3 separate regions of the Homo sapiens genome follow, and all the other regions are linked to region 2. Evidence: promoter capture Hi-C in 16 types of primary human blood cells and fetal thymus (Javierre and others, 2016). All regions are on one chromosome and are shown on one strand. The core of a region is centred on a gene start or on the middle of the fragment in contact, and the rest is flanking DNA. Distances in the headings are between cores, read along the strand shown. Region 1 overlaps UHMK1 (U2AF homology motif kinase 1). Region 2 holds the start of SPATA46 (spermatogenesis associated 46). Region 3 overlaps NOS1AP (nitric oxide synthase 1 adaptor protein).

Region 1 (3,876 bases), core at 997-3,496, 140 kb after region 2:
GTCTTTTTATGCCACAAACACTTCAGTAGCTATATAGAGATACATTAATTTTATTAGACTATAACAGCATCTCGGTCTTCTTTTTTTAATGACATAAAATTGTATGTATCATGTACAACGTGTTTTAAAGTATATATACATAATGGAATGATTAAATCTAGTTAATGAACAAATGCATTATTTTACATAGTTATTTTTTGTGATGAGAGTGCTTAACATTCACTCCCTATGTTTTTCAAGAATCCAATATATCATCATTAACTAGAATCACCATGTTGTGCAGTAGATCTCTTGAACTTATTCTTTCTATCTAACTGTAATTAGGCATCTTTTGGCTTTGGCCAATGTCTCCCCAAACTCCTCTCTCCTCTAACGCCCCCACCCAGCCTCTGGTAACACCATTCTTCTCTCTACTTCTGTGACATCAACACTTTTTAGAATTCACATATGAGTGAGATCATGCTGTATTTGTCTTTCTGGACCTGGCTTATTATAACACTTAACATGATGCCCTACAGGTTCATCTGTGTTGAAAATGACAGGATTTGCTCCTTTCAGTGGCTGAATAGTATTCCATTGTGTATATATATATCATATTTTCTTTTTTTACTCATCTGTGTTTTTTGTTTTTTTTTTACTTTTTACACATCTGTTTTTTAATTTTTTTTTTAAGCTAACATGCAAGAAATGAACACTTATCTGTTAATAGATACTTAGGTTGATTCCATATCTTGTATATTGTGAATAGTGCTGCAACAAACGTGGGCCTACAGGTATCTCTTCATCATACTGATTTCATTTCCTTTGGATATATACCCAGTAGTGGGATTGCTGGTAGTTCTTTTTTAAAAATTTTTTTTAAGGGGCCTCCATACTACTTTCCATAATGGCTTTACTAATTTATATTCCCACCAACAATGTGTACGGATTCCCTTTTCTTTATGTCTTTTGTCTGTTTGATGATAGCTATTGTAATAGGTATGAGGTGATACCTCATTGTGGTTTTGGTTTTTCATTTTCCTGTTGATTAGCGATATTGAGCATTTCTCATATACTGTTGGCTATTTTTATGTGTTCTTTTGAGAAATGTTTGTTCAGGTCTTTTGCCCATTTTTTAATTGGGCTATTTGTTTCCTTGCTATAAAGTTATTTGAGCTCTTTTTTTCTTTTTTCTTTTTCTTTTTTTTTTTTTTTTTTTGAGACAGGGTCTCGTTCTGTTGCCAAGGTTGTAGTGCAGTGGTGTAAACATGGCTCACTGCAGCCTTGAATTCATAGGGTCAAGTGATCCTGGAACTACAGATGCATGCCACCACACCAGCTAATTTTTAAATTTTTTTGTAGAGAGAGGATCTTGCCATGTTGCCCAGGCTGGTCTCGGACTCCTGGGCTCAAGCAGTCCTCCCACCTCTGCCTCCCAAAGTTCTGGGATTACAGATGTGAGCTACCACACCCAGCCAAATTGAGTTCCTTATATATCTTGTATATTACTCCCCTAGCAGATGTATAGTTGGTAAATATTTTCTCCCATTCTGTAAGTTGTCTCTTCACCCTGTTCATTGTTTCCTTGGCTGTGCAGAAGGATTTTAGTTTGATATAATCCCATTTGTCTGTTTTTGTTTTTGTTGCTTGTGCTGTTGAAGTTATATTCAAAAATTCAGTGCTCAGAACAATGTTGTGCAGCTTTTCTCTTGTTTTCTTCTAGTAGTTTTGGGTCTTACATTTAAATTGTTAATCCATTTTGAGTTGATTTTTGTGTAGGTCAGAGATAAGGGTTTAATTTTATTCTTTGGCGTGTTAATATCCAGTTTTTCCCAGCACCGTTTATTGAAAATACTGTCCTTTCCCCATTGTGTTTTCTTGGCACCTTTGTTGAAAATCAGTTGGTTGTAAATATTTTTTTTTCCCTGGGCTCTCTGATCTGTTTCATCAGTCTGTGTGTCTGTTTTCATATCAATACCATGCTGTTTTGGTTACTGTAGCTTCATAGAACTTTTTTGAAGTCAGGTAGTATAGTGCTTCCAGCCTTGTTCTTTTTTCTCAAGATTATTTTGGCTATTTAGGGTGTCCTTATGGTTTTTGTTATAGATATTGTCCATGGGTTTTTGGTTTTGCTATCTAGTTGCTTTATTATTAGAGAAATTTGATGAGATTCAACAATCATCCCACCGATATCTTTTTTTTTTAATTGTGTTACCCTAAATCTGTGTCTTTTTTGTCACTCACTGTTACAGAGTGTGGATCACTTTGCAGTGTTTCATTTATTAATCAAAAGTGTTATTTTAAATCACAGTATAATGTCATAGGTATGTATCATGAATTACTAAACCATTTACTAATAAATAGCATTTGTATTTATAAGTGAATGATTCAATAAATCATGCTAATATAATTAATGCTGTGATGAACATTCAGACATTCTTACTTTCTTTAATGGTTGCATTTTCAAAAGATTCAGCAGAAATGATAAGGCACCTATTTTTGTGTTTTAGCATGCTTCATGATGATCCAAGCAGAAGAATTCCTGCTGAAATGGCATTGTGCAGCCCATTCTTTAGCATTCCTTTTGGTAAGTTGTGTATTCTTTTATTTTTTTCTTGGTCATTTGACAGTCATACAAGACATCAGCACTAATTTATATTCACAAGTTCCTTTATCTGGTGTTCAACTTATTTGGGGGGATTTACATTTAACCATATTATGATGAATTTTAACAGCCCCTCATATTGAAGATCTGGTCATGCTTCCCACTCCAGTGCTAAGACTGCTGAATGTGCTGGATGATGATTATCTTGAGAATGAAGAGGAATATGAAGGTTAGTGTTTTCTAAATTATATTTTAATGTGTCTTTCTTAAATAAGTCTAGAATAAACATATCCGTAACATTTTCATATTTCTCAATTTATCTAATGAGAATATTGAACAATATGATCTCTAATATACTCTCACTTTTATCTTTTTGAGGCGGAGTTTCACTCTTGTTGCCCAGGCTGGAGTGCAGTGGCACGATCTCAGCTCACTGCAACCTCTGCCTCCTGGGTTCAAGCCTCAGCCCCCCAAGTAGCTGAGATTACAGGCATGTGCCACCAGACCTGGCTAATTTTGTATTTTTAGTAGGGACGGGGTTTCACCATATTGGTCAGCTGGTCTCGAACTCCTGTCCTCAGGTGATCCACCAACCTCAGCCTCTCAAAGTGCTGAGATTACAGGTGTGAGCCACTGTGCCCAGCCCTCTCACTTTTTAATTCATAATGTCCTTTTGACTCTTTTACGTTTCATCTTTACCCAGTTAATGAAGAAGATTAATTTTCCCAACAACTTCTATCTCTCTGGTCTGTCTCTTCTAGCCTTTCCCTATGCTTGCATTTCTCCATTTTAGCTCTCTTTTTTGCTTTTAACATTCATTCATTTAAGACATATTAACTGAGTATTTACTATGTGCTGTTGTGGGATTACTTCCCGTCTTTAGTATAGTAGGGGATACGGCTACATAAACAATTATAGTTGTGATAATCTGAAGATAGGGTACTATACAATGGCAGAAAGGACAAGTACTTAACCCAATCTTAGTAACTGGTGAATGCTTCTCTACAGACGTTATATCTGAGCTCAGTAATTTGGAGTTGCTTGACTAAAAGTTGAGGGGTTAGGAAGTAAGTAGCACAAACACATAGATATGAAAGTGTCAGAAAACAGCAAATTGGTATGACTGTATCTTAAGATATTTGTTGGGGAGCAATCAGTTAAAGCTAACGAGGTAGCCAGAGTACAGACGAGTTTGCTATGTTTAAGAATTTGGATTTTATCCGAGAGATAGTAACACCAAAATACAGATATGTGAAGAACTTTGCGTCAGGTATAGAATAATATCTAGTTTA
Region 2 (3,803 bases), core at 643-3,142:
CAAACCGGCGGCCTCCCACAGTCCCTCTTTTCGCCACCCATGGCTGTGACCCTTTTTTCAGCCTCACTGCTCATCTTGATCCCTCCACGGCCCACTCAGCCAGAAACTGCTCTTGCACACCAGTTTCAGAGACAGGAGAGGGGAGGCAAGGCGAGAGCCCCAGGCCTGTGGGTGTCTACCAAAGGAAGAAGGGCCAGATAGGAGGCTGCAGGTGACAAGACCGCGCATGGGGGTCCAGCTTCCAGACACCTCTGCTTCCTTAGGGAAGCAGCCCCTTTTCATCCTTAGCCTCTCACACATTCCCGCCCAGAGTCAGAGAAGTCCTCACCTGGTGAGAGCGCTGTGTTCTGTATCCCTTGCCTGACAATGATGCTTTGGTACTGGGGTGGCAGGGCCTGAGCTGGGCTGGATGCCTCAGTGGGTACTGCTGTCTTTGCAATGTCTGGGTTATAGAAGAAACACTGGTGAGCTGAGCAAGGTTGGGATTCCACTTTCTGGGACTCCCCCAGGCATACCTAGGGGCTCAACCTCTGTACTTCAAGGCATCTCAACGCTGAAACAGAACAGTGACCTCTCAAACTCAGCCAGGCAGAGCTATTCTGGATGACATCCTGGGGAATTCTGAATGGGGCCATTTCATTCAGGCCTCAGAAAGATCCTCTGGAAAGTGGGATTTATGATGTAGCCCAGATGACACCTCTCCGCCTGGCCTGCCCCTCACCTAACCCTCCTGCATCTCATCACGCGGATGGCTTCACTCCGCATTGCCAGTCTCCTGAGCATCCTGGGACCCAGAGTCACAGGCTGCAGAGCAATGTTCCATGCCCGCTTTGAGGATTGTCCAGTTGAAACATCTCATACCCACAGTCAGGGTTCCCGTGGGCCATCACTGCACGGCACACCCTGGAGTGCTAACACTTGGACAAAAAGCTGACCTGCCTCAAATCCCAGAATAGCAGCTGTGTTCAGTTTGGGGGACAAATTTATAAATGTCATATATGTAGACAAATGGATGCTTAGGAGGCCTACTCCACTGAGCAGTACTTCTCCATTTTACTGTGCATAGAGATCCCCTAGGGATCTTGTTAATAACACAGATGCTGATTCAGTGGATCTGGGGTGGGAACCTGAGATTCTGCATTTCTAACAAGCTCCCAGACGATGCAGACGTTGCAAGTCTAAGGACCGTATTTTGAACAGGGAGTCCTCAGGGTGTCCAACTTTATTCCATGATGTGCTCATCAGTTTACGCTGCTGCTTAGGCTTCTCTGATTTGGCTAACTCCAAATCCTCTCCAAACTTGTCAAAACAGAGCTAAAACTAGTTTCTACTCTATGTAGACATACTGCCACCTTGAGATTTCATGCACAATCTAGGGGGAAAAACTTGATGATAAATGGAGACTGAGGCAGGAGAATCACTTGAACCCAGGAGGCAGAGGTTGCAGTGAGCCGAGATCACATCATTGCACTCCAGCCTGAGCGACAGGAGTGAAACTCTGTCTCAAAAAAAAAAAAAAAGTTTTCCCCTTTCTTCCCTTACCAAAAATCAATACACAGCAGTAACTACTTACCACAAATGCAGCATTTTGAAAAATTATTTTCTCCCCATGCGTAATTTGACTTTCTCACTAAATCATGGTCCTGTAACATGATCTGGTAGGGTACTCAATTAAAAGCTTCAAAAAAAACCACATCTTTGTGGCCCTAGTGGCACCAAAGTTTACCTGGCAGGCTGGTGGCACGAGAGAACATAATGTCGGGAAAAGCACTCAGGGCGGAGGAAGAGATTGGAGGTCCAGAGATGCTGAGGAGTGAGAAGTTCTCCATATTCTGACCACTGCGGGGGTACAGAGATCACACGCCTGCTCTGGAGAGGCTGGCTGGTTTGTCCAGAGGATAAACATTCTGAGCACAGTTGATGTCACAAGGCACATGATTCCACTACCAACTAGGTTACCCTTTGGAAGATGAATGGAGTCTACTGAAAGCAAGATTAAAATGTGTAAAGATTGTATTTGACTTGCCATTGCCCAGTGGCAGGCCCTGATTGACAATACCCAGAGAGAAGAATGTAGTAGAGATACTGTAGTGATGCTGTCTATTTGTCCCCTTTTATCTTTGTTATCATCAGTTTTCTGTGTTGACACTGTCTACCCCCAGCCCTCCAGCCCTGGAAACCTCTGTCCTGTCTGAATAATCTCCTTCCTTTTCTTCTCCTTTATCAGCCTAATCTCTGTCAGCAAATATTTTTATTGTTTTGTTTTAGTTTGTTTTTTGAGGTGTATATATTTTTCACATTTTCTTTGGAAATTCAAATTTGTAAAAGTTGCAGAAATTAGGCTGGGTGCAGTGGCTCAGGCCTATAATCCCAGCACTTTGGGAGGCCAAGGCGGGTGGATCATTTGAGGTCAGGAGTTCAAGACCAGCTAGACAAACATGGTGAAACCCCATCTCTATTCAAAATATAAAATTTAGCCATGCGTGGTGGTGGGTGCCTGTAATCCCAGCTACTTGGGAGGCTGAAGCAGGAGAGTCGCTTGAACCTGGGAGACAGAGGCTGCAGTGAGCTGAGATAGCGCCACTGCACTGCAGCCTGGGTGACAGAGCGAGACTCCATCTTAAAAGCTGCAAAAAATAAAATCAATACAAAGAACACCCTTATGCCCTGTATCCAGATTTTCCTATTAACATTTTACCCCATTTGCTGTATCCGTCCCCTTCCTCCTGCCCCCTGCCCCATGTGTATGTGTATATACTTAATTTTTTCTGTGAACTATTTGAAGGTAAGTTATAAACACTATGTCCTTTTATACCTAAGTACTTCAATGTGTATTTCCTAAGAATAGGGGCCAAATATTGTTTTCAGTGGTTGGTGCTCTTTTTAGCAAGTGACTAAAGCACAAATGGGTGGCTTACTCAATACTATTTTGCTCATTGCTTAAGTCAGTTTGATGGGGAGACTCTGGGACTCCAGAGAGGCAAGGTTGCCTCTTCGTTTCGCTTGTCCTATAACAACCTTGTGCACTAACGAGGTGTGGAATAAGGTGAAAGATGATTGTGACACTTGGAAGATAAGCTGAAGACACCCCTTTCTAGATTATCACAACATGTCAACTAGATACAGAGCAGGGCTGCAGATCTAGATGGCAGGTATGTTTATGCTGCATGGGGAGCTATGGCCGCTCTGGAAATAGTGATGGGCTTGTTTTGCAGTGCTGTCGAGCATGTGTGAGTGAGGTGTGAGTTAGCTTCTGCACGTGAGAGCCCAGAGTTGTCTTCCTGTGTGTATTTATTCACGGTACTGAAACATTCGAAGGACAATGGGAGAACATGATTCCCCTCGTGTTCCTCCCAGATAGCCTGGTTTGGAACATTAGCATGTATTGGAAAGTAAGTTGAAGCCACATACTTTGGCAGTTTGGGGGGTATCAGCAATTTCATTTGGTCCATTATGGTGTAGAGAAAGCTCATGAGTCTGGGCATCAGCTTATGTGACTTCTAACCCTGCTCCGCCATGAGCTACCTGTGTGATATTGGGCAAATCTCTCTGCTACTTGGTTTACCCATGTTATTAGTTTAGACTCTAAACTGGAATGGATGAACATCTTCCTGGCTAAAACCCAGTGACTGACATGTGGACAGTAGCATACTTGTGAGTGATGCACACAGGACCCCGAGGACTTGGAATTGCATTCTGTCTTGACCCATCACATTTCTCCGACTGCCAACTTCAGACTCTCCCACTGCAACCTCAGACTTAAAGTAAAGGGAGCTTAAAATACTGGGGGGAAATATGGGAGG
Region 3 (3,897 bases), core at 1,392-3,891, 230 kb before region 2:
CCTCAGATGCCGGAACACCAGGCAGAATCCAGGACTCAGGATGCTCCTCAGAGGAGAGATTCTCCCATGGGCACTTGGGGTGAATCTGTGTTCATTTTTGGAGGATTCCACTCAGTCAAATGTATTTTGAGCATCTCCTGTGTACCTGGACCTGTGGGAGGCACGGTCAGCTAGTGATGACTAAAGCATGTTTTAGCTGTGTGTTCTAGACAGGAGAATTGCATGGAGGTATGGGAGTCCTCTCTAAGGGTATCTCACCTACCCTGGGGGTAAACAAAGGGGAAGTAGAGATTAAGCAGAAATCTACAGGATCACGAATGTTGGAAGATTAGGGGACGAGTGGGTAGAAGAGTATTCTGTGCACAGGGAGGAACATGTGTAGATGCCCTTGAATGTGAGAAGATACGGTGTGATTGAGGAACTTCTGAATAATTGGCAAGGCCACTGGTGTGAGATGAAGCTGGACCATGTGGCTATGTAGGCCATGCTGAGGATTTTGATTGCCATCTTTGAGCAAATGGAAGCAAGTGTGGGAGGTTCTTAAAGAAGGGAATAAGATGACCCAATTTGCTTTGTAAAGAGATCACTCTGGCAGCTTCATGGAGAATGGTTTGCAGAGGGCCATGTGGGTACTGGAGAAACCAGTAAGGAGGCCATTGTATAGACAAAGTGAGAGAGGAAGATTTTCTGGGATCAGGTAATGGCAGTGTAGACAGAGAGGTAGAGGGGAGAGAATTGGGAGGTCCTGATCACTGATTAGCTGTGACGGGTAAGGGAGAAGCACGTTCGGGGATGACTCAAGTTTCATGCTTGAAAAACCGGTGGATTTCCTGGGGGCTGCTAATCAGGATGAGGAAGGCTAGAGGAGGAACATGACATGGGAGAAGGAGGGGAAAAAGGATGAGTTTCCATTTTGAAATATATTCCTCCAATTCCCAGGCATCAGGCCAACCCAGCTCCATTGCCCTAGGAACGTGTGGGAGCCTGCATCCTGCAGGAGAGGCAGATAAAAGGAGTGCTGTTTCAAAGTGATCAACTGCCACCAGTGTATCAGTCTTTGACTGAAGGCAGGGAATTGGTGTTGCCTGACCCCTGTAGGAATTGACAGAGCCTGGATATCTGAAGGTTGTTGGCTCCTAGGCCTGAACTTCATCTACCTGCTGAGCTAACCTTCCAGTCAAGAGTGGGAGGGTCTGCCTGAGTTCAGTTTACTGCAGAATTGCTTGAAGTTGAGCAGTTAGAAGGGCCACCCTCCAGCAAGTATGTCTGGTCTTAGATGGTGTCTTACACTTTGCTCAAGATGAAGACTCAGGGACAGACAGAAGTTAGTTGTGGAGGTGGTAATGATTAGTTATCAAGGTACTCTTTGTTGTGGTGTCATATGTGTAAAGAAAGTATTCACATACCACACCCTCTGGTTTTGCCCTGTGCAGTAGACTTTCTGACCCTTTGCTTCCCTGGCACTGTAGTTCTGCTCTTGATTCATGTTATTAGAGTGGATGTTTAGCTTTTGTCTAGGAGATGCAGACCTGAATCCTGCTTTGTGTATCGTTTTAATCTCTCTGGATGACCCTAAGGTGCAGCTATAGCGAAAACAGGTTATTTATTCCAGACACATTCTCAAAAAGGCAGATTAGTGATTCTTGTTTGTAATTTATTTTATTTTAAAAAATTTATTTTCAATTTTTGTGGGTACATAATAGGTGTATAGGTTTATGGGGGCACATGAGATATTTTGATACCGGCATGCAATGCATAATAGTCACATCAGGGTAAATGGGGTATCCATCACCTTAAGCATATATCCTTTCTTTGTGTTACAGATAATCCAATTACATTCTTTCTGTTATTTTTAAATGTACAATAAGTTATTGTTGACTATAGTCATCCTATTGTGGTATCAAATACTAGATCTTACTCATTTTACCTAATTATATTTTTGTACTCATTAACCATCCTTCCCTCCCTGCTGCAACTACCCTTCCCACCTACTGGTAACCATTGTTCTACTCTCTCTTTCCATGAGCTGAATTGTTTTAACTTTTAGCTCCCACAAATAAGTGAAAACATGTGAAGTTTGTCTTTCTGTGCCTGGCTTATTTCACTAACCTCCATTTTTATCTGTGTTATTGCAAATGACAGGATCTCATTCTTTTTCATGGCTGAATAGTATTCCATTTTACTGCATTTTCTTTATCCATTTGTCTTTTGAGGGACACTTAGGCTGCTTCTAAATCTTGGCTATTGTGAATAGTGCTGCAATAATCTGGGAGTGCAGATATCTCACCAATATACTGATTTCCTTTCTTTTGGGTATCCTAGCAATGGGATTGTTGGATCATGTTGTAGTTCTAGTTTTAGTTTTTTGAGGAACCTCCAAACTGTTCTCCATAGTGGTTGTACTAATTTACATTCCCATTGATAGTATACGAGGGTTCTTTTTTCTCCACATCCTTGCCAGCATTTATTATTGCCTGTCTTTTGGATAAAAGTCATTTTAACTGGGGTGAAAGATATCTCATTGTAGTTTTGATTTGCATTTCTCTGATAATGATGTTGAGCACCTTTTTATGTACCTGTTTCCCATTTGTGTGTTTTCTTTTGAGAAATGTCTAGTCAGATCTTTCACCCATATTTAAATCAGATTATTAGATTTTTTTCCTACAGAGTTGTTTGGGCTTCTTATATATTCTGGTTATTAATCCCTTGTCAGATAGGAAGTTTGCAGATTTTTTCTCCCATCCTGTGGATTGTCTCTTCACTTTGTTGATTGTTTCCTTTGCTGTGCAGAAACTTTTTCAACTTGATGTGATCCCATTTGTCTATTTTTGCTTTGGTTGCCTGTGCTCATGGGGTATTACTCAAGAAATCTTTGCCCGGTCCAATGTCCTGGAGAGTTTCCCCAACATTTTCTTTTAACAGTTTCATAGTGTGAGGTCTTAGTTTTAAGTCTTTAGTTCATTTTGTTTTGATTTTTGTATATGGTGAGAGATAGGAGTCCAGTTTTATTCTTCTACATATGGATATCCAGTTTTCCCAGCACCATTTATTGAAGAGACTATTCTTTCCCCAATATATGTTCTTGGCATCTTTGTTAAAAATGAATTCACAGTAGATGTATGGATTTGTTTCCGGGTTCCCCATTCTGTTCCATTGGTCTATGTGTCTGTTTTTATGCCAGTACCATGCTGTTTTGGTTACATGTTCTGTAGCATGTACATGTGCATGTTCTGTAGCATGTACCTGGTTACATGTTTTGTTCTATAGCCTAATTTGAAGTCAGGTAATGTGATTCCTTCAGCTGTTTTCTTTTTGCTCAGGATAACTTTAGCTATTCTGGGTCTTTTATGGCTCCATATAAATTTTAGGATTGTTTTTTCTATTTTTGTGGAGGATGTCATTGGTATTTTGATAGGGATTGTATAGTACAGACACTTTAACAATAGTGATTCTTCCAATCCATGAACATGGGTTATCTTTCCATTATTTTGTGTCCTCTTCAATTTCTTTCATTAATGTTTTGTAGTTTTTATTGTAGAGATCTTTCACTTCTTTGGTTAAGCTAATTTCTAGGTATTTAGATTAGTGATTTTCTTTGCATGAATGAGAAGGAAGGAAGGAAGAAGAGCAAGTGAGTGTGTGGTGTGAGTGTGATGTGTTAGTAGGGGTGTGGGGTGAGGCAAGTGTGTGGCATGTGGGGTGTGCATGTACATGTACATGCGCACCATGACTGTGTGTGAAGGTGTGTGGTACATGTATGCACACATACCAGCTGGGGTAGTGGCTGATGTAGTGAAGGAGTTACTTGTGGGGTGAAGATGGTAGATGTCTTAATGTGAGCCCCTTGTTAGGAAGCCTTGTCCAAAACTCGAAGCTGCCTCTTCTCTCCACCTGTCC

What was found. Contacts are between HindIII fragments. The CHiCAGO score rates a contact against its expected background, and 5 or more counts as called.
Region 1: a fragment that was not itself captured here is called in contact with the fragment with the promoter of SPATA46 in region 2 in 1 of 17 cell types (M1 macrophages); the score reaches 5.0 in M1 macrophages.
Region 3: a contact is called between a fragment that was not itself captured here and the fragment with the promoter of SPATA46 in region 2, in 1 of 17 cell types (M1 macrophages). The highest score is 9.3, in M1 macrophages.

Annotation. Positions count from the first base shown.
Region 1 is chr1:162,510,011-162,513,886 of GRCh38, forward strand. It overlaps UHMK1 (U2AF homology motif kinase 1), which reads left to right. Exons shown (of 8, transcript NM_175866.5): 5 at 2,490-2,566; 6 at 2,715-2,813. Among named protein-coding and RNA genes, the nearest start is that of UHMK1, 14 kb to the left of the region's middle. The HindIII fragment of the contact is 5,815 bases long and covers 1-3,876 here.
Region 2 is chr1:162,374,962-162,378,764 of GRCh38, forward strand. SPATA46 (spermatogenesis associated 46) reads right to left here and starts at 1,893. Exons shown (of 3, transcript NM_182581.4): 1 at 1,727-1,893; 2 at 329-442. The coding sequence starts at 1,829. The HindIII fragment of the contact is 3,530 bases long and covers 1,677-3,803 here.
Region 3 is chr1:162,148,159-162,152,055 of GRCh38, forward strand. The region is part of intron 1 of NOS1AP (nitric oxide synthase 1 adaptor protein); the gene reads left to right. The region is part of intron 3 of LOC105371475 (a long non-coding RNA gene); the gene reads right to left. Among named protein-coding and RNA genes, the nearest start is that of MIR4654, 7.0 kb to the right of the region's middle. RefSeq lists an enhancer at 3,752-3,897. The HindIII fragment of the contact is 8,322 bases long and covers 1-3,897 here.